Regions from separate parts of the Homo sapiens genome. Here all the other regions are linked to region 1. The links are contacts of gene promoters, found by promoter capture Hi-C in blood cells and fetal thymus (Javierre and others, 2016). All regions are on one chromosome and are shown on one strand. Each heading gives the region's core, a stretch centred on a gene start or on the middle of the fragment in contact. The rest is flanking DNA. Distances are from core to core; before and after follow the strand shown.

Region 1 (2,850 bases), core at 328-2,827:
GGCTAACACGGTGAAACGCTGTCTCTACTAAAAATACAAAAAATTAGCCGGGTGTGGTGGCAGATGCCTGTAGTCCCAGCTACTCGGGAGGCTGAGGCAGGAGAATGGCGTGAACCCGGGAGGCGGAGCTTGCAGTGAGCCGAGATCTTGCCACTGCACTCCAGCCTGGGTGACAGAGCGAGACTCCGTCTCAAACAAACAAAAAAGCCATATTGAAAGTAGGAAGAGAACTAATTCTTGACATTTAAACAAAGCTGTCTCTCTATCTAGTAAGTAAGAAGTAAGTAAATGTCTTGCTCTGTTGCCCAGGCTGGAGTGCAGTGGCACAATCACAGCTCCCTATAGCCTGAAAGTCCTGGGCTCAAGTGATCCTCCTGCCTCAGCCTCCCAGGTGGGTGGGACTGCAGGTGCAGTGCAGGTGCCATCACGCCCAGCTATTTTTTTTTCTTGTGTAGAAATGGGGGTCTCATTATGTTGTTCATGCTGGTCTTGAACTCCTGAGCTCAAGTGATCCTCTCACCTTGGCCCCCAAAGTGCTGGGATTACAGGCATGAACCACCACGCCCAGCCCAAAGCTTTATTATATTAGATTTCAAATTTCTAACATATCAAAGTAGCGAAGTAGTACAGTCAACCCCCTGCCATCACATGGCTTCGACCCAATCTTGTTTCTTTTCTCCTCCCACCTACTCCCTCACTCCCATATTATTTTAGAGCAAATCCCAGCCATTTTATCTGCATCTTTCAGAATATATCTCTAAAAGACAGGAATTCTTCTTTAAAATAATGCTAATTAAAATAGTCTATGAAAGTAATATATACTTATTAGCAAAAAACAGGTTATTAAAAGTAGAAGCAAAAAGTCACCCATAGTCCTTTTGCCTGAAATAACTCCCATTAACATTTTGATATATTTCTTCACAGATGAGAAAAAATTAAGAACTTTCCCCCCTTCCCTGCCCTATAATCCAAATTGTGTGGGCAAATCTGAGATTACTAGATGTATTGGAAATCCTTTCTCTTTCATAGATAAAAAAACAGAAGTAGACAGAATTTTAAAAATAGATATACTATGGGATGGCTATTGGAGTCATGGCAGTTTTTTTTTTCTTAAATGAAAAGTACTTTTATAGAAATTGTTCTTTGAAAATATTCAGCAAATAATCATTTATTGCTTTCTATGTGCAGATCAAGTTTGTATGATAATTAAATTATTGATAACTTATACCTACGATTTTAAGAATATTTTCAACCCTTTGGTCAGATTGTCTCCAATTAGCATAATAGCAAAGAGACTTTTCAAGGTTAATATGAAACTTTTTCTCAGCTATTTTTTTATTGTCTATTTCTCAGGGGAAAAAGGAAACTTATCCTCTTAGGCAGTTTTCATAATGTTATACATTTAAAAATTAATCTGAAGGAGCTTAAAATATAAATGCATTAGGTGAAAAATAGCAGTTGATTTAAATAAAATGAAGGAGGAGAAGAAAAAGAACCTTACCGACACAAAATAGAATGAGATTGGTTTGCAGATGGCGAGCGATGTTGCTTCTGCTCGCAGTCCCCATTTCTGTGTATGCCGGGGCGGGTTGGGGTGTGTATTTGAAAGGAAAGTTGGCTTTCTTTTTTCAGAAGGGAAGAAGAGCTGAAGAGAGGAACCTCTTATGAAGGAACCATAATCAGGAACTTTTTGAAATTGTGCAAGGATGGCTTCACCATTTAACATTGAGATTTTGGCCTGGAGCACATTTAGAAATGTGCATATCTTTTTTTTTTCCATGGATTTTACAGTTGTCATAGGTGTTAGATGTTTCTGGGTGAGATTTTGATTTACACCTAGCACATATTTCCAGGAAGGAGTATTGTTTGACAAATAATTCGTACTTGGATTTTTCAGAACAGTTCAGTCACTGTCTAGGGTACCTGCTCTGGGTGCCACTCTGGGCCAGTAACTGCTGGGAACAAAGAACAGCAGAAGGAGAAGTGGCTTTGTGTAGAGATGAGAAAAGTTAGTAAACAACACATTCTAATGCAGCGAATAAATAAATTGTCTGTTATTAACTTTTTGTACTCCAGTTTTGAATCCAAAGACACCTGCCTTCCCCCCTTTTTTGACAGGGTCTCTATCACCCAGGCTGGAATGCAGTGGCAAGATTGCAGGTCATTGCAGCCTCAGCTTCCTGAGTAGCTGGGACTACAGGCATGCACCACCACCCCTGGCTAATTTTTTTTTTTTTTTGTAGATTCTGTGTTGTCTAGGCTAGTCCTGCCCTCAAGCGATCCCCCTGCCTTGGCCTCCCAAAGTGTTAGGATTACAGGTGTGAGCCACCATGCCTGGCCCAAAGACCCCCTTTTAATGTGTTGAGAAACAAATATGTGGGCCCTCTGTCCTCTGTGTCCTCTCCCCCAGCACTTAGTGGTGATTCAGTAAGGGTCTTCTTTGTAAAGCAGCAGAAACAGACTCAGGCTGACTTAAAAGGAAATTTATGCAAACATTTGAAGGTAGATCCTAGAGTCACTGGGAGGGCTAGTGAATCTTGTGTGGGGTCCACAGCCAGGAAGAATGCCTCAAATCACACCATAAACAGGTCTGAAGAGGATGCTACTGCCACTGCCAAACACTAGGTGCCATCAGCCCTGTTGTCAGCATCGCTCAACCACTGCCCCAGCCCCTTGGTCTCACTGCCATTGCTCCACCCCCAGAGAAGGAGAAGCTCACATCCCCACTACTCTGGGTCACTGGCTCTCCATTCCAGGGCATGGGCAAGTGTGCCTGGCTTAGGCTGCGTGCCAGTGCCTCAGCTGCACGGCAGGCCAGGAAAGCGGCTCCCAGGCCTTGTGTCTCTCCCA
Region 2 (3,121 bases), core at 110-2,609, 990 kb after region 1:
CCCCTCCTTCAGTTTTCCCTATCTCAAAATGACACCATTGTCCTTAAAAGGTTAAATCAGCTTCCATGCTAACTTCTCTACCTTCATATGCTTGTTGGCTGCCTGTATGTCTCTGGCCTCATGCAGTCTCTCACCAGGTTTTGTTGCACTTACCAAAAACATGCCTAGATACCATCCATTTCATTTCCAATGGTTTAGCCACTGGAAATGGCCAGCTTTCATCTGGACAATTGCAAAGGACTGCAATTTACTTCCTCCTTGTTCTCTTATTTCTTCCCACACAGCCATTAGAATTATCTTTAAGAATGCAAATAGATCCAGTCACTCCTTTGCTTAGATCATTTAATGGCTTTCCCCTGCCTTCAGGATAAATATGGACTCCCTGAGATGACCTGTCAGGCCCAATATGATCCAGTATCTTTGCTTTATCTTACATCACTCTCTTCCTTGTTCTATAGTTCTTTCTCTTATTCAAAGCTGACATACTCTATCCTGACTCAGGGCCTTTTCTCACATTATTCCTTCTGCCTGGAATGATTCGTCTGTCCCCCCTACCATCCAGCTAACAACTGCTTCATTTCTTAGCTCAGATATCACTTACTCCAGGAGACCCCATGCTGGTTTAGATCTACCATGATATGTTTCTGGTGTACTCTGTACATCTTCCCAATAGCCATACTCTGTACATCTTCTCAATAGCCAGTTAACTTACTCAAAGTTTGTTTTCCCTTGTAGACTTTGTTTCATGAGGGCAGAACCTGCATCTTTCTTGTTCACCATTGTATCATCAAGAGCAATGTTTGGCACATAGCCGGTGCTTAGCAAGTATTTGTTAAATAAATAAGCAGAAGTCCAAGGACCCAGACTCGTTGGAGACTGAGATAAATACCCTAAGACACTTCATGTTTGTCCACAAGCCTGAAGTGACCTCAGAGAGGGAACGGTTACAAGTTTAAAACAGCTGCAAAGTGCAGAGAAAAGGCCAGCAGATGTTCTGACTGTTAGATGTTCCCGGTGGGTTGTGTGCTGTGTCATATGGGACTGCCAGCCAGGGCCTGCCATGTCGGGAGACCTTGGGGGAAGGAGCAGATCTCAAGCTATAGCAGATGGTAAGTGCTGTCTTTAGTCTTTAACATTTAAGGAAAAGAACTGGGAATAGACGTTCGGCTCAGTAGCAGTTATGATGCATTTAAATAAGCCTTGCAAATCATTTACAGAATGCATATGCCTCCAAAATTCTTCATTGCTCATAGATTTTGTGGGAGCTTCCTCTGGTCCATCTTTGTATCCTCAATGTACAGTAGTGTCTGTGGCATGGGGCGAACCTTCAGTGTGGGTGGGCTACCCACTGAAGGAAGGCACATACTTGAGACATATTGGCATTTGGCCGGCTGTGGGTAATTGATCATCTTCCCCAGGAGAGTCACGCCCCCTAAATGCAGAGACTGTGCCTTGTGCCTTTTTGTACTCCCTCTCCCACTTTACTCAGTTTCTTGTTCCCCTCCAGCTAATATCAGGGCAGGTGGGTGGGACACTACTCGCCCTATCTTAGTTCAGGTTGCTGTAACACAAATACCATAGATTGTGTGGCTTAAATAGCAGAAATTTCTTTCTTACAGTTCTGAGTCTGGGAAGTCCAAGATCAAGGTTCTAGATGATTTGATTTGGAGAGAGTTTTCTTCCTGGTTTGCACAGACACCTTCTTGCTGTATCTTCACATGACAGAAAGAGAGAGAGATGGGGGTGGAGTGAGGGATGAGAGAGAGAGAGAGAGAGAGAGAAAGAGAGAGAAAGGAGAGTGAACTCAAGAGTGCTCCATCTCATCTTAGAAAGGTACTAATGCTGGCCAGGCATGGTGGCTCATGCCTGTAATCCCAGAACTTTCGGAGGCTGAGGTGGGTGGATCACCTGAGGTTGGGAGTTCAAGACCAGCCTGATCAACATGGAGAAACCCTATCTCTACTAAAAATACAAAATTAGCCAGGCGTGGTGGCACACTTCTGTAATCCCAGCCACTCAGGAGGCTGAGGCAGGAGAATCGCTTGAATCTGGGAGGCAGAGGTTGCAGTGAGCCGAGATCGTGCCATTGCACTCTAGCCTGAGCAGCAAGAGTGAAACTCTGTCTCAAAATAAATAAATAAATAAACAAATAAATAAATATATAGGTACTAATCCCATCAAGAGGGCTCCACCCTCATGACCTAATTACCTCCCAGAAGCTCATCTCCAAATACAATCACATAGGGCATTAGGGTTTCAACGTATGAATTTTGGGGTGACACAAACATTCAGCCCATAGCATGCTCTATCATATTTTCCTGGAGAACCGTGGTTTTGGAACAAGGGAAGTAGGGCTTGGATATTTCAATTAGCTTCCATTTGAAAATGGGAATGAGAATACCTGCTTCATAGGATTATTGTAAAGATTAAATGAAATTGCATATTTAAAATGCCTCAGCCTATGCCCGACTCATGATAAGTAGTTAGAAAATTATGGAATTGAAGAGACAGTATGCCATGCCATTATGGTCATGGGCCTTGCAGCCATAGAGTCCTGGGCTTCATTATGGGCCCTGCCACTAGTAAGTGAACTTGACAAGTTATTTAACTTTTCTGAGCCTCAGTGTCCTCATGGGGAAAAACAGGGCTAAAAATCTGTCTAGCTCATGGAGTGGGTGTAGGATTAAATGCAATATACATATAAAATGCCTTGCCATATAGTAAATGCTCAATAAAAAGATAGTAATTGTTATTACCATCGTTATTATTGAACAGCAAGTGATAAATTGGGATATCCTGACTGTCCTAAATTGTGTCAGAAATGTGGGATCTGGTTCATATTTATAGAGACTTCTTGTTCTTTCAATTGTTCAACCTAAAAAGCTTAGAGTTGTCGTTAAATCTTCCATTTTTCTCACTTTCCACAACCTGTCCATTGGATATTCTTGTTGATTCTACCTTATAATCTAGGTAGAGTCAAGCTACTTCATTTTTTTTTTTTTTGGCAAAATTCAGAAGACAATGTAAAATACATGTTATCAAATGCATTACAAATAACATTTCTATATTGATCAGTGATTTTTTTTCCTTTTCAACTTCTATTTTAGGTTCAGAAGGTATG
Region 3 (2,849 bases), core at 71-2,570, 550 kb after region 1:
AGAGCTTTAAGCAGTAGCGTCTTTTTTTTTTTTCCAATCTTGCTTTGGGCTTGGACAGACTAGTTCAGCATCTTTGATCTTCCCTTCCTGCCTGACGGCCCCAGGGTCAGAATTCCAGGTGCAATTTTGTCTTGCCAAAAGCTGGAGTTTACTCTCTTTGGGGTTTATAAATAAGGAAAAAAGTTCTTTGGAGAGCCTGAACTTTGAAATCAGAGAAGTCTGGATTTACTGCTGGCTCTGCCTTTTCTAGCTGCCTCACCTGGGGCATGTCATTATCTCTATAAGCCTCAGTTTTGTTCTTTTTTCTTTTTTATTTTTTTGTTTTTGTTTTTTTGCGACGGAGTCTCATTCCTTCACCCAGGCTGGAGTGTAGTGGCGCGATCTCGGCTCACTGCAACCTCTGCCTCCAGGGTTCAAGCGATTCTCGTGCCTCAGCCTCCAGAGTAGCTGGGACTACAGGCGCGCCCGGCTGCTTTTTTGTATTTTTACTAAAGACAGGGTTTTACCGTTTTGGCCAGGCTGGTCTCGAACTCCTGACCTCAGGTGATCTGCCGGCCTCGGCCTCCCAAAGTGCTGGGAAGATGGAATGAGAGAAATCCCTCAAAACATGTCATTGTTACTACTTTTCTATCTAGAATGTGTGAAATTTCTAAAATTTCACTAACAAAGTATCTGGAAGGACCTAATATTAAAGTGTTCACAGTAGCTATTAGTTTTAATTCGTTTTCTTTTTTATACCTTAGCCACTCTACCACTCATGCCACAGGTATTTATTAAGCATCTACTGTGTGCCACCCAGGCCCTGTGTCAAGAGTTAGGAATAACTAAAGGAGATACTAATTTTAAAACTACACAAATAATTGCAATCGTCATACGTGCCTGTTTTTACAAAGCAGAAATCAGGAAAAACAAAGTATTTCCGATAAAAAATATTTTAAGGTTATGGATAGAGATACATACAAACAAGCGATGGGCTTGGATCACTAATGATTTTGGAAAGGACAGGAATACAGGAACTAAGCGAGAAGCAGGCGAGAATGGCGAGGCGCGGCGGGAGAGGACGGAAGTTGGTCACTCCCTCGAATTGCCCCCTCGCTGCCGGATGCTAGGCCAGCCTTGAGCAGGAGAACCGGACACTGTGTACTCAGCAGGGGGAGCCAAGACTTAGCGCTAACCATTGCACCTGGGGCTGGGAGCCAGCGCCGGAGCCAGGAGGCCCGCTAGGCGGCTGCAGGCGCTGTGATGGCCACCTGGGGGCGGCCACGTGAGCGCCACGCCGTGCGCCCGCCAGGCCAGCCCCGCCCCTGCCCGCCCGCTTCTGCTCAACCTAGACCAGCCCCAGCTTCAGCCTCAGCTCCCCTCCTTCCTGGATCGAGCGCCCGCACTCCCGGCCCTGCAGCCACCCGAGTCCCGCTCGCTGTCGCCTGCACGCGAGTCCCCCCTGGCACGCGCTCCCACATCCCGGGATCGTCCCAACGGCCCCTGCGCCCTTCCTGGGATCACTCCGACTGCCCCGCGCGCCCTGGGATCGGTCCATCTACCCCGCGTGGCCCCAGCTGCTTGCCCGGAGCGCCAGCTAGCGCTCCCCGCTCTCCGCTCCCCGGCACTCTCGGGGGGCCCGCCCGCCCTGCACCCTGGAGCTCCGGGCCGCGAGCCTCTGCCAACTCCTCTGGACCCTCGCGGCCGTGGGCAGCGGCTGCCGCGCCTGTCTGCCCGAGGGAGGTAGGTGTGGACCGCGGCCGGCAAGGCTGTGGGGGGCTGGGAGCCCGCGCTGCAGGCCTGTGCGCCCGGGTGCAGCTGGCGTCTGGAGCGTGCTGGGTCTGGGCTTGGGAATGGGGCCGGAGAAGGCATGGAAGGAGAGTGTGGGGGCGCTTCTCCTCTGGTTGTTAAACTCTCTGGGGCTAAGTGCTTGCTTTGGAGAAATGGGGAAGTTGTGCGGATTAAAGGCGATGTGGATATGGAAAGCAATTGGCAAGCAATGGGCGGTGATCTGGCTGCAAGTGACAGAGAGTTTGGGGGCCTCCCCCCTCGGGGCCCCTAGAGTGTGGGCGCATCGCTGCCTTCCTGTCCCCTGCAGGGCTCAGAGCCGCATCCCCCACCTTTCCCCTGAACTAGAGGCCTGCGTCAGCCCGAATTCCCGGAACCTCCAGGACTGTATAGACGCGCCCTTGCTGCATTGTTGGCTGCGGGAGTTTGTTGGCAGGCGCTGCTGACATGTGTGCCAAGGGGCTGGGCATTAATAAGCCGGTGGCCGCGCGGGGGTGGGGGCCTCCCGGGTAAGCCCCGGCCTAGATCCTTTTGCGCGCGCCTGGGGGATTTCGGGGAACCAGCCCAGCTGCGCCCTGAGTGTGACAGATGGGCCGCATGGGGAAGTGAGATCTGCCCAGGGGGACGGTCCCAGGGAGCCCGACCTCTGGGACCTCGGTGGTGGGTGCTTCTTCAGCCAGGAAAGCAGGAAACACTAGGGCTGGAGTCCTGGGTTGGAATTCTAGCTCATTTATGCTCTCTGGCCCTCGGTTTTCTCATCGGTAAAATGGGTACAGTATTAGTATCTACCACTTAGTATCCTTGGAAAGAGTAGATGAGTATGTATATGTCAGGTGCTTGGAACAGTGCCTGGCACACAGTGTCATAGTCTATGGCCCCGGGAGACATCTGATGGCCAAGAGCCCTGTGGTTGAGGGCCCTGGACAGGCTGTGAAGTCACAGCGAATTGAGTCACGTAGTCTATCCTAATGTTTTTAGCGAGGAGGAAACCGAGGGTCAGAGTGATCCCCAGGCCCACAGAAGCTCCCTAAGAGGAAGCCAGTCACATAAACAGATTCTAAAAAGCGAGATGGAGTAAATGG
Region 4 (2,908 bases), core at 216-2,715, 730 kb after region 1:
AAAAAAAAATTGAATTCAACTCTCAGAAAGCTTATGGCCTTTTGCAGAATTATAAGTTTACAAATACCTGCCATGCAACTTAGTGATAGATCAGATTAGAAAGGTGCAGCATGCTTCTTGTTTTAGCACGCCTGAAATAAAACTAAAAGAAACAAGAGTCCCTAGGTTTTGGTAGGCTAAATTTGTGTCTTGGCTTTTGATTCTACTGTCTCCCTTGTTTTTGACTCTTTTAGTAACCAAGCAACCTCTAGCCTCAGTCTTCATTCTCAGGGATGAACTCCTTAGAGTGAAGTCTTCACTGGTAGTTCCCAGCATTTTGAAATCTGAGAATTGCTTTTAAAGTAAAAAATGTTGGCTGGCCTCCACACAATAGTAGTTTTGAAGTGTTTGGGAACTGCATCATGATGAAAACAATCAGATTTGTATTTTTAATCATTATAGCAGAAGCTACAAACATTTTAAGAATACAAGTACACATGTGGACAAAACATTCTTTATTCTATAGACAATGCTTGGTATGCATATGGGTTTGATAACCCATTTTTGATAATTCTAGGACCCTGCCACTCATAGAATTAGAGTCTTCTTTTTTTTTTTTTTTTAATTTGAGACAGGGTCTTGTTCTGTTGCCCAGGCTAAAGCGCAGTGGCGAGATCATAGCTCATTGCAGCCTCAAACTCCTGGGCTCAACCAATCCACCCGCCTCAGCCTCCTGAATAGCTAGGACTACTGATCTGCACCACCACACGTAGCTGAATTATAATCATTCTTGGGTCTACTTGGTGCAAAGTGAAGTGTAGAGACCTTAAATAATTTGGTCATTTGAGCCAAATGCCAACTTCCTCCTTCTGACTTGCCCTCTTTTTCCCTAAGAAATTTGGCAGTGTAGACCGAACTGTCTGCTTAATTCTGTTCCTGGATCTACAAAGTTAAAGCGAGGCCCAAGGATTACTCAAGCAAGTAACATCCTTTGAGTTATCTGAATCTGTGTCTGTTTTCTGACTGAATAAGATGCAGAGACCTGGCTAAATATTCAAGTAAGCCAAGAATAGAACAGAAAGATCATGGTATTCTCTTTAAACTATAGTCAAGATTGAAAGGAAGATGAATCTATGCCTTCCTCTTGCTTGGTTAGCCTTTTCCTGTTTTCTACTTATAAAAATCAAAGGGTAAGACAGACAATAGGCTAGATTTAAGATAGGCCCATACAAGGATCTCAGCAAGGATCAGAATGTGTTATTTCTGTACCCATTGTAGTGATGTCCTTGCTGTCAAAGCTACAGAAGATCAAGAATAAGTCTTCAAATGCAAGTCTGTACTACTGAATGAACAACTTTAAACTAAGATGAGGGACTTATTTTCTTTTTGACTTGAGCAAAAGGCTGTCACCTTGTTGTTCTGTTTCTGTTGTACCCTACCAAGTAAGGAGGATAATAATGGCATAAACATATCTCCTTGACACTAGTTAATCATGTCCAAGCTCTTGGATGAATCCCACTTTATTTTATATATTTTTTTGAGGTGGAGTCTTGCTCTGTCGCCCAGGCTGGACTGTAGTAGTGCCATCTCAGTTCACTGCAACCTCTGCTTCTGGCGTTCAAGCAATTCTCCTGCCTCAGCCTCCCAAGTAGCTGGGACTACAGGTGCATGCCACCACACCCAGGTAATTTTTGTATTTTTGTGGAGATGAGGTTTTGCCCTGTTGGCCAGGCTGAAATCCCACTTTATAAGTTCGAAGAGATAGACAAAAATATAAGTGGAGTCATACTCTATGCAAACTAGGTTTCCTGGCGAGCATCTCAAAAAATATTGAGTGAATAGATAAGGAAGTAAGGTGTTAAATCTGGTGACATACTCACAGCTCGTAGGTTTGAACTCTTATTTGGCTAAAATAAGTACTGGCCAGCCATGTTTTGCCCCCCCATCCACTACTGTGTGCAGTGAATTTTAACCTTTTTTTTTTTTTTTAAACAAAGGGAAGAAGAGTTCCTCTGCATGGAAAATGACACTTTTAAATATCAAACCCATTGCTTGGGCATACTCTATGATGACATTAGGGACTGAAATGCTGAATTCTGTCTTTGGTTTCTACTATGTGAAACTTTTTCTACATCTGTACAAGATTTCAGAAGTGGCCTTTTATCAAGCCCAGGTGAGATGGAATCTTTACTGTCCTTTCACATAGGACAGATCTCCTTCCTTTGAGGGAAAGAGAGATTTTTATTTTTTATTTTACTTTATTTTCTTTTATTTATTTTTTTTGAGACGGAGTCTCACTCTGTTGCCCAGGCTGGAGTGCAGTGGCACGATCTCGGCTCACTGCAAGCTCCGCCTCCTGGGTTCACGCCATCCTTCTGCCTCAGCCTCTCGAGTAGCTGGGACTACAGGCACCCGCCACCACACCCGGCTAATTTTTTGTATTTTTTAGTACAGACAGGGTTTCACTGTGTTAGCCAGGATAGTCTCAATCTCCTGACCTCGTGATCCACCCGCCTCGGCCTCCCAAAGTGCTGGGATTACAGGCGTGAGCCACCGCGCCTGGCCTTTTATTTTATTTTTTGAGACAGAGTTTTGCTCTGTCACCCAGGCTGGAGTGCAGTGCACAATCTCGGTTCACTGCAACCTCCACCTCCCCAATTCAAGTGATTCGCCTGCCTCGGCCTCCCCAATAGCTGCGATTACAGGCCCATGCCACTACGCCCGGCGAATTGTTGTATTTTTAATAGAGACAGGGTTTTGCCATGTTGGCCAGGCTGGTCTCAAACCCATGACTTCAGGTGATCTACCCACTTTGGCCTCCCAAAGTGCTGGGATTACAGGTGTGAGCCATCGCGCCCAGCCGGAAAGAGAGATTTTTAAAAGATTGCTAGTTAAAATGTAAAGGCATTAGAATTTAAAGAATAAGCTT
Region 5 (3,087 bases), core at 496-2,995, 680 kb after region 1:
AAATCCTGTGAGTTGTTACTTTTTTTTGTTTTTTTCAGAATTCTTATGACAGATATTAGACATACTGAATCCAATCTTTTCCATTTTTATTTTGGGGTGTAACGTATTTTACGGCATCCTGTTTCATGGATGCAGTGGCATGTTTGTGCATTAAGACTTCACACCAATTTTGACACCCTCTTCTCATCTCCGTGCAGCTTAGATTGTCGCTTCACCTGCTTGCTAAGTCCGATGCACGCCTGCATTTTACCATGCAGAAATATGTTCAAGCCACTCATCCTCTCATGTCTCTTCACCAGTTCTTTTGTTATGCTGGCATATACCTTTGTTTTTATTTATATTCAAGTTTCCAGACATAGCATTAATGCCTTTACTTTTGTGTTTTTATTTCTGTACACTGTCTTGCTGGGTCTCTAGAGATGACTTGGCTCATCTTTAACCAGAGGTGCTGCGTGAGGGTTTTTATCAGAGACTGCAACACAAAGTCAGGTGCATGGCTTGGGTGTCTTGTTTGGGGATGTTTCTCTTTTTAGATCACTGTTTCCCATCATAACGTGTTTTTGCTACTAAAGCATCGACAGGTTTTGCTTGAAATTTTTTCCAAAAATTACCGGGTACGCCGAAACATGATCCAGTCTCGGTTGACTCAAGAGTGTGGAGAAGATCTCAGTAAACAGGAGGTGGATAAAGTACTAAAGGTACATCCATTTTGTGCATAACAAACAATATCAAAGGCTCTGGAAGGGGCTGACAGTGTGTAGAAGGGACTCTAGTGTCTTTGTGTATATGAAATCAGGCTTCCTTGGGACCACTCCCCAGTCAGTCTTGTCTTGAGCAACTGTTAATGATTGATTGATTGGCATTGGTTGGGGAAGGGGGTATGTGCCAGAGGACTGACCCCTTCAAACAATATAGTCACAGTGGTGTCCAAGGGAAAGAATACAGCCATGGATGCTTTGTTTCTCTTTCTGGTTGGGCCAGGCCAGTAATGCCCCTTTCATCCCTCTTCTCTGCTTGTCACTAGAGACAGAAACTAAAAACCATGGCTTCAGGCTGCTAAGAGCCTAAAACAATAGAACAACAAAAAAATATGGTAGGTTGGATGAGCTTGGCAGTGGGTAGGCGTCTTCTAAAATGATAGGGCCTAGTTGAGAATCCTCACTCTACTCTCCCTTGAATTTTGAACTATCTTCTGATTGTTGCCATAGCCACACACATGACTTTCAGTAGAATCCATTCTTAAATTTAGTTTAAAAAGGAATATGATCTGTTTACTATATGAAAGCACCTAATGTACAACCTATAATGCTTTTCTGAAGTGACTGTAGTACAAATACCAACCATATTTGCAGCAACACTGAGAGACAGAAAACTGATGACAATGTCTTGTTTTGATTAAACATCCAGAGCCATATAAGTAATACTGTTTTTTAAGCACCCTTGTTCTGGGCATGTCAGTATCTGTATTTCGTAGACCCCCTTTTTTTTTTTTTTTTTTTTTTTTGAGATGGAGTTTTGCTCTTGTTGCCCAGGCTAGAGTGCAGTAGCACAATCTCGGCTCACCGCAACCTCTACCTCCCAGTTTCAAGCAATTCTCCTGCCTCAGCCTCCTAAGTAGCTGGGATTACAGGTGTGAGCCACCATGCCTGGCCCACCCTCACTTTTAAAATGCCCCTGAGGAATGGCCAGGCGCGGTGGCTCACACCTGTAATCCCAGCGCTTTGGGAGGCTGAGGTGGGTGGGTCACTTGAGGTCAGGAGTTTGAGACCAGCCTGACCAACATGGAGAAACCCCATCTCTACTAAAAATACAAAATTAGCCAGGCGTAGTGGTACATGCCTGTAATCCCAGCTACTTGGGAGGCTGAGGCAGGAGAATCGCTTGAACCTGGGAGGCAGAGGCTGCAGTGAGCCAAGATCATGCCGTTGCACTCCAGCCTGGGTAACAAGAGCAAAACTCTGTTTCAAAAAAAAAAAAAAACACTACCCCTGAGGAAAGGGTGGCTGGTAGTAGCCATGGTGGTATGGTTAGGCAGTTTTTGATTTCCCATTTGTATTCTATTCACTAATCATAAATCGAGTGTTGACATTGTGGACAGAATGTAATTAGCTCCTTTTCCTGCAAAAATCTGTGCTTACCCTGTTTCTCTCTCATAGGACTGCTGTGTAAGCTATGGTGGCATGTGGTACCTTAAAGGGACAGTACAGTCTTGACAATAGTAGCAAACTACTAACCCAGCAAATCTAAGCCCAAGGAAGAAGGGCGGAACCAGAAGTAGGGCCTCGACTTGCTTCAGACGACACAGAGCAAGAGGAACTGACCATCTCATGACCTGTGGCATTGCACGGTGCAGTGGACAGAAGGGATTATCCTCAGCCAGTCGCAGGGTCAGCTTAAGTTAGTTAGATCACTCCCAGAAGAGACCAGCTGGGACCTTCTTTGCAGTACAATTTGAAATTCCTGATGTATTTTGCTTATTATTTGGTTTCATTCTCATAATAAAGAGAGTGTATACTGACATGGGCAGGATGATAAAAATCATGGTTTAATATTTTCTTTTGTAAACTTAATGCCAACAAGGTCTAAGTTATGTTTACAACATGAAGAAAACCTCAAAGTTCTTAATTTTTAAAATGCCTAGAAGACAATATTTAGTCTTGGATTATCTATCTGCTAAGACCTCCACCAATTTCATTAAACCAAATTGAATTATTCTATTCTTGGGATTCTGTGGCCACTTCACCTTTGACAACAACCTACTTTATGTAGCAGTCTCAACTGTTTACATGAACCATAGCAAAAAAATCAGAATCAAATCCATCTCCTTTTAATGTTTGCAGAAAGATGCAAACAAAACCAGGTAAGTATGGAACAATGTGTAAGTGAGGTTATCACACTTTGATGTAAAAATTTCTATTTTGTGTATTTTTAAAATAAATGCAAACACTAAACTAGCATCATGGTGCTATCTTCAAATGGTTACAGGAAGGCGATCTTGTTGGGCTCAGCGTTACGTGTATCTAGAGGGAACGGAGCTAATGGAGGAAGACAGAGCAGCACTGTCCACTAGAAAGAGGCGAGTCACGT
Region 6 (2,923 bases), core at 356-2,855, 710 kb after region 1:
GCCCTAGTCTAGCATCTTTCATTTTAGTTTGTTAAGCTGGGCAAAAGGTATTATATTATTATTATTTTTTTATTGAGACAAGGTCTCGCTCCCATCACCTAACCTGGAGTACAGTGGCACGGTCTTGGCTCACTGTAGCCTTGACTTCCCAGGTTCAGGTGATTCTTCCACCTCTGTCTCCCAAGTAAGCTGGGACTACAGGCACACGCCACCACACCAGCCTAATTTTTGTATTTTTTTTTGTAGAGATGGGGTTTTACCACGTTGCCCAGGCTGGTCTCGAATTCCTGAGCTTGGGCAATCTGTCTCCCTCGGCATCCTAAAGTGCTGAGATTATAGGCATAAGCCACCACACTCAGCCAAAAATGTAGCATTTTAATAAAATATCCAGCAAAAATGTAAACAAATCAAGATCACAGCAGAGAGAAAGCAACATGTATTTTATGATTATTTGAATGGAGCAAAACATCTGAACACACTGTGAAATCAGGAACTATGATTTTTTTTTTTCAAATTTAGGATATGGTTTGGTAGTAGGTGGGAGGGATATGTCACCAAGGAGGAGGTATAAGTTCCCTCTCCGGTGGGAAGTTCAAGAGTGTGGGCAGTCTTCTTTTTTAAGCTAGGTGGTGGATATATGGGTATTCACTGTATTGTTCTCTTACCCCATTCTGTATATCTTAAATATTGCATGTTTTAGGCCGGGTGTGGTGGCCCATGCCTGTAATCCCAGCACTTTGGGAGGCCAAGGCAGGTGGATCATCTGAGGACAGGAGTTCGAGACCAGCCTGGCTAACACAGTGAAACCCCATCTCTACCAAAAATACAAAAATTAGCCAGGCGTGGTGGCAGGCGCCTGTAATCCCAGCTACTCGGGAGGCGGTTCTCATTCTCAAAAAAGTTTGTGTTAAAAAATAAAATGCTGCATCTAATTGCAAGTGCTTTTTTACCAGTATGTGATTGGCATAACAGCAACACATCGAAGTGTCAAAAGTGTAACTCTCCTGCCAAGTGAATTACCTCAATTTCCTGTAACTGCTCCTGATTGGTTGTATACATCTGCTGAACAGAGTCCTCCAACTCTGTGTTCCGATCCAGTAATGTCTTCCCAAGCTCAGCAGCAAGTTGAAGATCTAGCACAACAAATGAATCTTAGAATAATACAAATGATCTCACATCAACAATTTATATAACCCAGTCCTTCAAAAAAGAACATGTAGTTTAAGTCACATCCCAATGGAAGGTGGAGTGGCACAGAAGGAAACCCGAGTTCTACTTAAAATTCAGTTAAACTGACGCCTCCAGCAGGTAATGTATTCTCTTATGTACCCATACTTGTAAGAAGTGAAAAATGGTCATCTACTTTATGGAGATGCAGTTATTTGTTCAGGAATGATCATTCCGCAGTGTTACTTCTAAAATCCTATTTGCTAGTACAATGAATGTATTCATATCCTGACAGTCTACTTTTTTGAATGGACCCTTGAGCCAAGGTATAGGTGGAGCTTTCAAAAATCTTTAAAGTTCCCATGAATTTGCCTGCTGTGAATACAACTGTTAAAGTTTATTGTCATATATCCTGGACTCCTAAGGGGACTAAAATTTATTAAGTCAAGAAAAGGAAAAATACATCAGCATTAAGAACACTGCCCCAGGTCACTCTACTTCTCTTCGTGTCCTTCTGTAAGATGAGCAACTAGAAAAGCAAAACAGAAATGTGGTTTTTGAGGTAATTACATGTCAGTAGCTCATACTTCCATTTAGCACAGAACCATATTTTATTTTAAACCTCATTTTTCAACTCTCTCTATTCTTAGGTATAATGCCCATAAAACAGGATTTGTTTATATTATACTCAACTCCCAGAAATGAAAATTTAGTTAACAATATAAGAAAGGACACTAGTTGTAACATACGTCATTGAAATACTTCTTTGCATAGTAAATCTTATGGAGCAGTCCTTTGATACAGTGGGAAATGCACTGCACTCTGGGCAGGTAAGTCTCAGGCCCAGTTCTATCATTTACCAGAACACTTTCAATATGGTGACTTTAAGGCCCCTATAGTTAGTATTCTTGTTTAGAGAGATGACTGTCTTATCAATATAAGATTGTGAAAATCAAATGAAATAATACATAAAGGAGTACTTTACAAACTAAGTTGCAATACGCACGCAAAGTACTATTAATAGTCATTGATTCACAAATGAATGTTTTTGTTGCCAGGCACTATGCTAAGCATTAGCTATAGAACAGTGAATAAAATGAAGTCCTGCTTTGCTGACATTCCCAGATTAGTGGAGGAAGCCAGACAAATGAGTAACTAAACTCACATACTGTGATAAACAGTATTCATGCATGCATGCATATACTCAATAATATCAGACACTATTCTAGGCACTGGGATGGTGCCCAGGAGCCATAAGGAACTCACATTAAAAAAATATCCCTGCCCTCATGGAGCTTATATTCTACTGGGAGAAACAGCACAATAAAACTTGATAGCGATAAATGCTAAAGAGAAAAAAATAAAGCAAGGAAGAAGTACAGGAGGAGTGTGGATGTGGGAGGCTGAAATTTAAGAACATGTGACCAGGGCCACATTAGAATCAATGTGTGAAGGAACAGAATAAGTGACCCATGTGTATCCATCAGGGAAACAGCACTCCAGGCAGAGGCAAGGCAAGTGCAAAGCACCTGGGAGGAAGCATGACTGAGTCATTAAGGAGGCTGAGGAGGGTGGAGCAGAATGTATTGGGCAGGGAGGGGAGGGGGAAGACTCAAATCAGAGGGGCTCCAAGATGGCCAGTTTGCGGAGGGCCTAACTAAAGAGGTCAAGAGTTTGGCCTTTACTCCAAATGAAGGAATCCAATGGAGGTTTAACAGGATCACTCCGGCTGCTGTTATACAGGGTGAATGGGACA
Region 7 (2,863 bases), core at 227-2,726, 640 kb after region 1:
TTTTTAATATCTTTGCATATCCACACGGATAGGTATTTTAAAATACAGTCTGGTGAAAAATAACAGCCAATTGCAGATCTATATGAATAATGTGACAATATTTGTGTTCAAATCCATACACAATAAAAACAAAGCTATCTTCTATGGCTATATCTATATATATCCATATAGATATAAACATATAAATTCACAGCAAAAGATCTAGAAAGATATATAGTGTTTTAGTCCATTTTCTGTTGCTTATAACAGAATACCTGAAACTGGGTAATTTGTAAAGAAAAGGAAGTTATTTCTTACAGTTATGGAGTCTGAGAAGTCCAAGGTCAAGAGTGTGCATCTGGTGAGGGCCTTCTTGCTGGTGGGGGACACCTGCAGAGTTCCCAGGCAGTACAAGCCATCATATGGAGGGGGTGCTGAGCTGCTCCCTTGCTAGCTAAGGTCTCTCTCCCTCTTCTTATAAAGCCATCAGTCCCCCTCCCAAGATAACCCATTAATCCATTAACCCATTAATCCATGAATCCATGAAGAGATTAATCCATTCATAAGGGCTCCACCCTCATGATCTAATCACCTCTTAAAGGGCCCACCACACAATACTGCCACATTGGGGATTAAATTTCCAACACATGAAATTTGGGGGACACATTCAAACCATAGTTCATATTAAACAGATAATAATGGTTAGTTACCTCGGCGGAGGGGCCTAGGATGCGAGTCAAGGTCAAAGAGCATTTGTACCTTATCTGCAAAGTTTAAATATTTTGCAATAATTCGCGTGTTATTTGTGTAAGTAAAAATTTAAACATAATTTTTCAGAGACAACTGCCCAGACCAGCTCCAGGGTTTGGCCGTCAGATCCCCTGGTGCATGTTTCTGATCAGATCAATTTCTTCTCCCGGAGACACCCAATCCGGGTCGTATGGATTACCTGTGGGTTAACCAGGGGTCTCCGGGTTAACCATCCAACTCAGAGTAAAGTTTCTAAAAATGCGTTTTGCTCTAATACCTATTCGGAACCAACCTGGGTCTAAAGACTGGAGCAAGTGTTTATTTTCCAAAACACGGCTTTTTAAAATAATTCTATAGGGATCACCTTGAACACACGTTAAGCAAAAAAAAAACCTCAGCGAAAACGCCTCGCAATGTCCAGATTAAATGCAAAAGCAAAAGCATTAAGTAGCTTTCTGGCATAAACATATTGCAGCTGGGTAGCGTGGCCGAGCGGTCTAAGGCGCTGGATTAAGGCTCCAGTCTCTTCGGGGGCGTGGGTTCGAATCCCACCGCTGCCAGGGTTGCTGTCTTTTTGTCCCCGCTGCATACACTCCTGGCTCAGTTTTGCGCGTGCCATCAGCGCCCCCTGCTGCAGGGCGGGGCTCACGGCCTGCATGAATGGCGCGGCGGAGGGGGCGGAGCCGCGTGCACCGGGGCGGGGCATTGTGGGTAAGAGGAAACGCTGGGGCCGGCCCGCTCCCCCCCACGTGTCCGCCGGAGTTTCTCCACCAGCAACATGGCCGCCGCCTGAGAGGAGAGCCGGGCCGCCGCCGTCTCTGCAGCCCGCGGGTAACTGGGCCGTTGCCGCCGTCCGCGCTCGGCCCCCGCGGAGAGGTGAGTCCCGTCTTGGCAGTGCCCGAGCTGGGGCTTGAGCCGGACCGCACTCACGACGTGGGCCTGGGCTAGATTCCCGAGTAGGCCAAGGAGGCCCGCGCCGCGCTGTGCCTAGCAGCTGGAGGCCTCTCGGGACTCGGGCGGGGAGGAGGGGCAGCCGGCTCCAGGCCGACCCCGGACTCTGACTTCCTTGACCTGACACCTGGGAGTTGGGGAGGCCGCGGCCGACGCTGGCGGCGGTGACTCAGGGTCCAGCCGACCTGCCCTATCCGGGCCTGGGAGGCCTCCTACGGAAGAAACACCTGTCCGCGCGTCGGGTGTAGTGGCGGCTCGCGGCAGGGACTGCGTGGTGGGCGTGAGAAGGGGGGCCTGACCACCCGCGAGGGAGCAGAAACCCATTGGACAGCGAGGCTCGGGATCGGCGGCCCGCCCCGATGGGCAGGGAGGGCACCTGCGCCTGCCGGAGCCCCCACTTCGCAGCTGAACCGGATTAGCCTCTGCCCGGCGAGGCCAGGGATTCCTCATTCATTTATTCAGGCAACCATTCAGTGTTTACCGAGCCAACTCTGTGTTCCGGATACAGCCCTGACCATTCGGTCCGAGGAGGTGTCAGTAAACAAACAAGGTCGTTCCTTTGGGTTAGCTTTAGAATTCCTTGGGCTTGGAGGCGGAAAGAAGAGATCTTAGCGATCTCCACAGTTTCCTCATCTGTGAAATAGAGATAATAGAAATTCCTACCTCATAGGGTTGTGGTGACGGCTCAGTAGAAACCGGGTGACGCTCCTGCTTGCAGCGTTTGACTTGTGGCTTAGCGTCATTACCCGCTTACGTTGGCAGAAAACATGTTGTCAAGTAATAACAAACCTTCCCAGAGGTTACGTTTATTAGCGTCCTGTCCTTACTCCTTCCCCGCAGGGGTCTGGAGGTCGGTACTTAGTTTCCCTACTTTAGGGATGAAAATAGGGAGGAATACCAAACCCAGACAACTCAGGTGGGTCACAGATGCCAAGCAGCTGTGGTGGGATTTGAACCTGCACAGTTTTGTTCTCGGGTCCAAGCTCTTACCCACTTAACCATACTGCCGTTTATCAGAAAACCGTGCAGTATAGTGGTTAAGAATAAGAATAAGGATCTTTGACATAGCGAGACCCAAGTTTCTGTCCTCATTCCACCTTGGATGAGTTGCTTATATCTGAACCTCAGTCTCGTCATTTCCAAATTGAAGATGATAAATCTCTATTGATAGGGCTAATGAGAA

The links. Contacts are between HindIII fragments. The CHiCAGO score rates a contact against its expected background, and 5 or more counts as called.
Region 2: a contact is called between a fragment that was not itself captured here and the fragment with the promoter of IGSF6 in region 1, in 1 of 17 cell types (erythroblasts). The highest score is 6.0, in erythroblasts.
Region 3: the fragment with the promoter of EEF2K here is called in contact with the fragment with the promoter of IGSF6 in region 1 in 6 of 17 cell types (total CD8 T cells, neutrophils, fetal thymus and 3 more); the score reaches 8.7 in total CD8 T cells.
Region 4: a fragment that was not itself captured here is called in contact with the fragment with the promoter of IGSF6 in region 1 in 1 of 17 cell types (neutrophils); the score reaches 6.8 in neutrophils.
Region 5: a contact is called between a fragment that was not itself captured here and the fragment with the promoter of IGSF6 in region 1, in 1 of 17 cell types (total CD8 T cells). The highest score is 6.3, in total CD8 T cells.
Region 6: a contact is called between a fragment that was not itself captured here and the fragment with the promoter of IGSF6 in region 1, in 1 of 17 cell types (neutrophils). The highest score is 8.8, in neutrophils.
Region 7: the fragment with the promoter of POLR3E here is called in contact with the fragment with the promoter of IGSF6 in region 1 in 1 of 17 cell types (total CD8 T cells); the score reaches 5.2 in total CD8 T cells.

Annotation. Positions count from the first base shown.
Region 1 is chr16:21,651,031-21,653,880 of GRCh38, forward strand. IGSF6 (immunoglobulin superfamily member 6) reads right to left here and starts at 1,578. Exons shown (of 6, transcript NM_005849.4): 1 at 1,502-1,578. The coding sequence starts at 1,568. The region is part of intron 4 of METTL9 (methyltransferase 9, His-X-His N1(pi)-histidine); the gene reads left to right. The HindIII fragment of the contact is 3,735 bases long and covers 574-2,850 here.
Region 2 is chr16:22,641,518-22,644,638 of GRCh38, forward strand. No RefSeq gene overlaps it. Among named protein-coding and RNA genes, the nearest start is that of LINC02890, 30 kb to the left of the region's middle. The HindIII fragment of the contact is 3,044 bases long and covers 1-2,881 here.
Region 3 is chr16:22,204,958-22,207,806 of GRCh38, forward strand. EEF2K (eukaryotic elongation factor 2 kinase) reads left to right here and starts at 1,321. Exons shown (of 18, transcript NM_013302.5): 1 at 1,321-1,722. RefSeq lists silencers at 1,092-1,391, 1,552-1,821. The HindIII fragment of the contact is 13,136 bases long and covers 1-2,849 here.
Region 4 is chr16:22,380,434-22,383,341 of GRCh38, forward strand. No RefSeq gene overlaps it. Among named protein-coding and RNA genes, the nearest start is that of CDR2-DT, 7.0 kb to the left of the region's middle. The HindIII fragment of the contact is 2,875 bases long and covers 29-2,903 here.
Region 5 is chr16:22,331,488-22,334,574 of GRCh38, forward strand. POLR3E (RNA polymerase III subunit E) reads left to right here. Exons shown (of 21, transcript NM_018119.4): 20 at 573-698; 21 at 2,157-3,087. The coding sequence ends at 2,213. LOC124903664 (a long non-coding RNA gene) reads right to left here. Exons shown (of 2, transcript XR_007065026.1): 2 at 2,423-3,087. Among named protein-coding and RNA genes, the nearest start is that of POLR3E, 36 kb to the left of the region's middle. The HindIII fragment of the contact is 7,227 bases long and covers 1-3,087 here.
Region 6 is chr16:22,363,882-22,366,804 of GRCh38, forward strand. CDR2 (cerebellar degeneration related protein 2) reads right to left here. Exons shown (of 5, transcript NM_001802.2): 2 at 1,021-1,133. Among named protein-coding and RNA genes, the nearest start is that of CDR2, 9.3 kb to the right of the region's middle. The HindIII fragment of the contact is 3,798 bases long and covers 1-2,923 here.
Region 7 is chr16:22,295,933-22,298,795 of GRCh38, forward strand. It overlaps POLR3E (RNA polymerase III subunit E), which reads left to right and starts at 1,477. Exons shown (of 21, transcript NM_018119.4): 1 at 1,477-1,605. It overlaps TRL-AAG2-4 (tRNA-Leu (anticodon AAG) 2-4), which reads left to right and starts at 1,208; the gene lies at 1,208-1,289. RefSeq lists silencers at 1,098-1,547, 2,558-2,697 and enhancers at 1,221-1,765, 2,208-2,347. The HindIII fragment of the contact is 19,375 bases long and covers 1-2,863 here.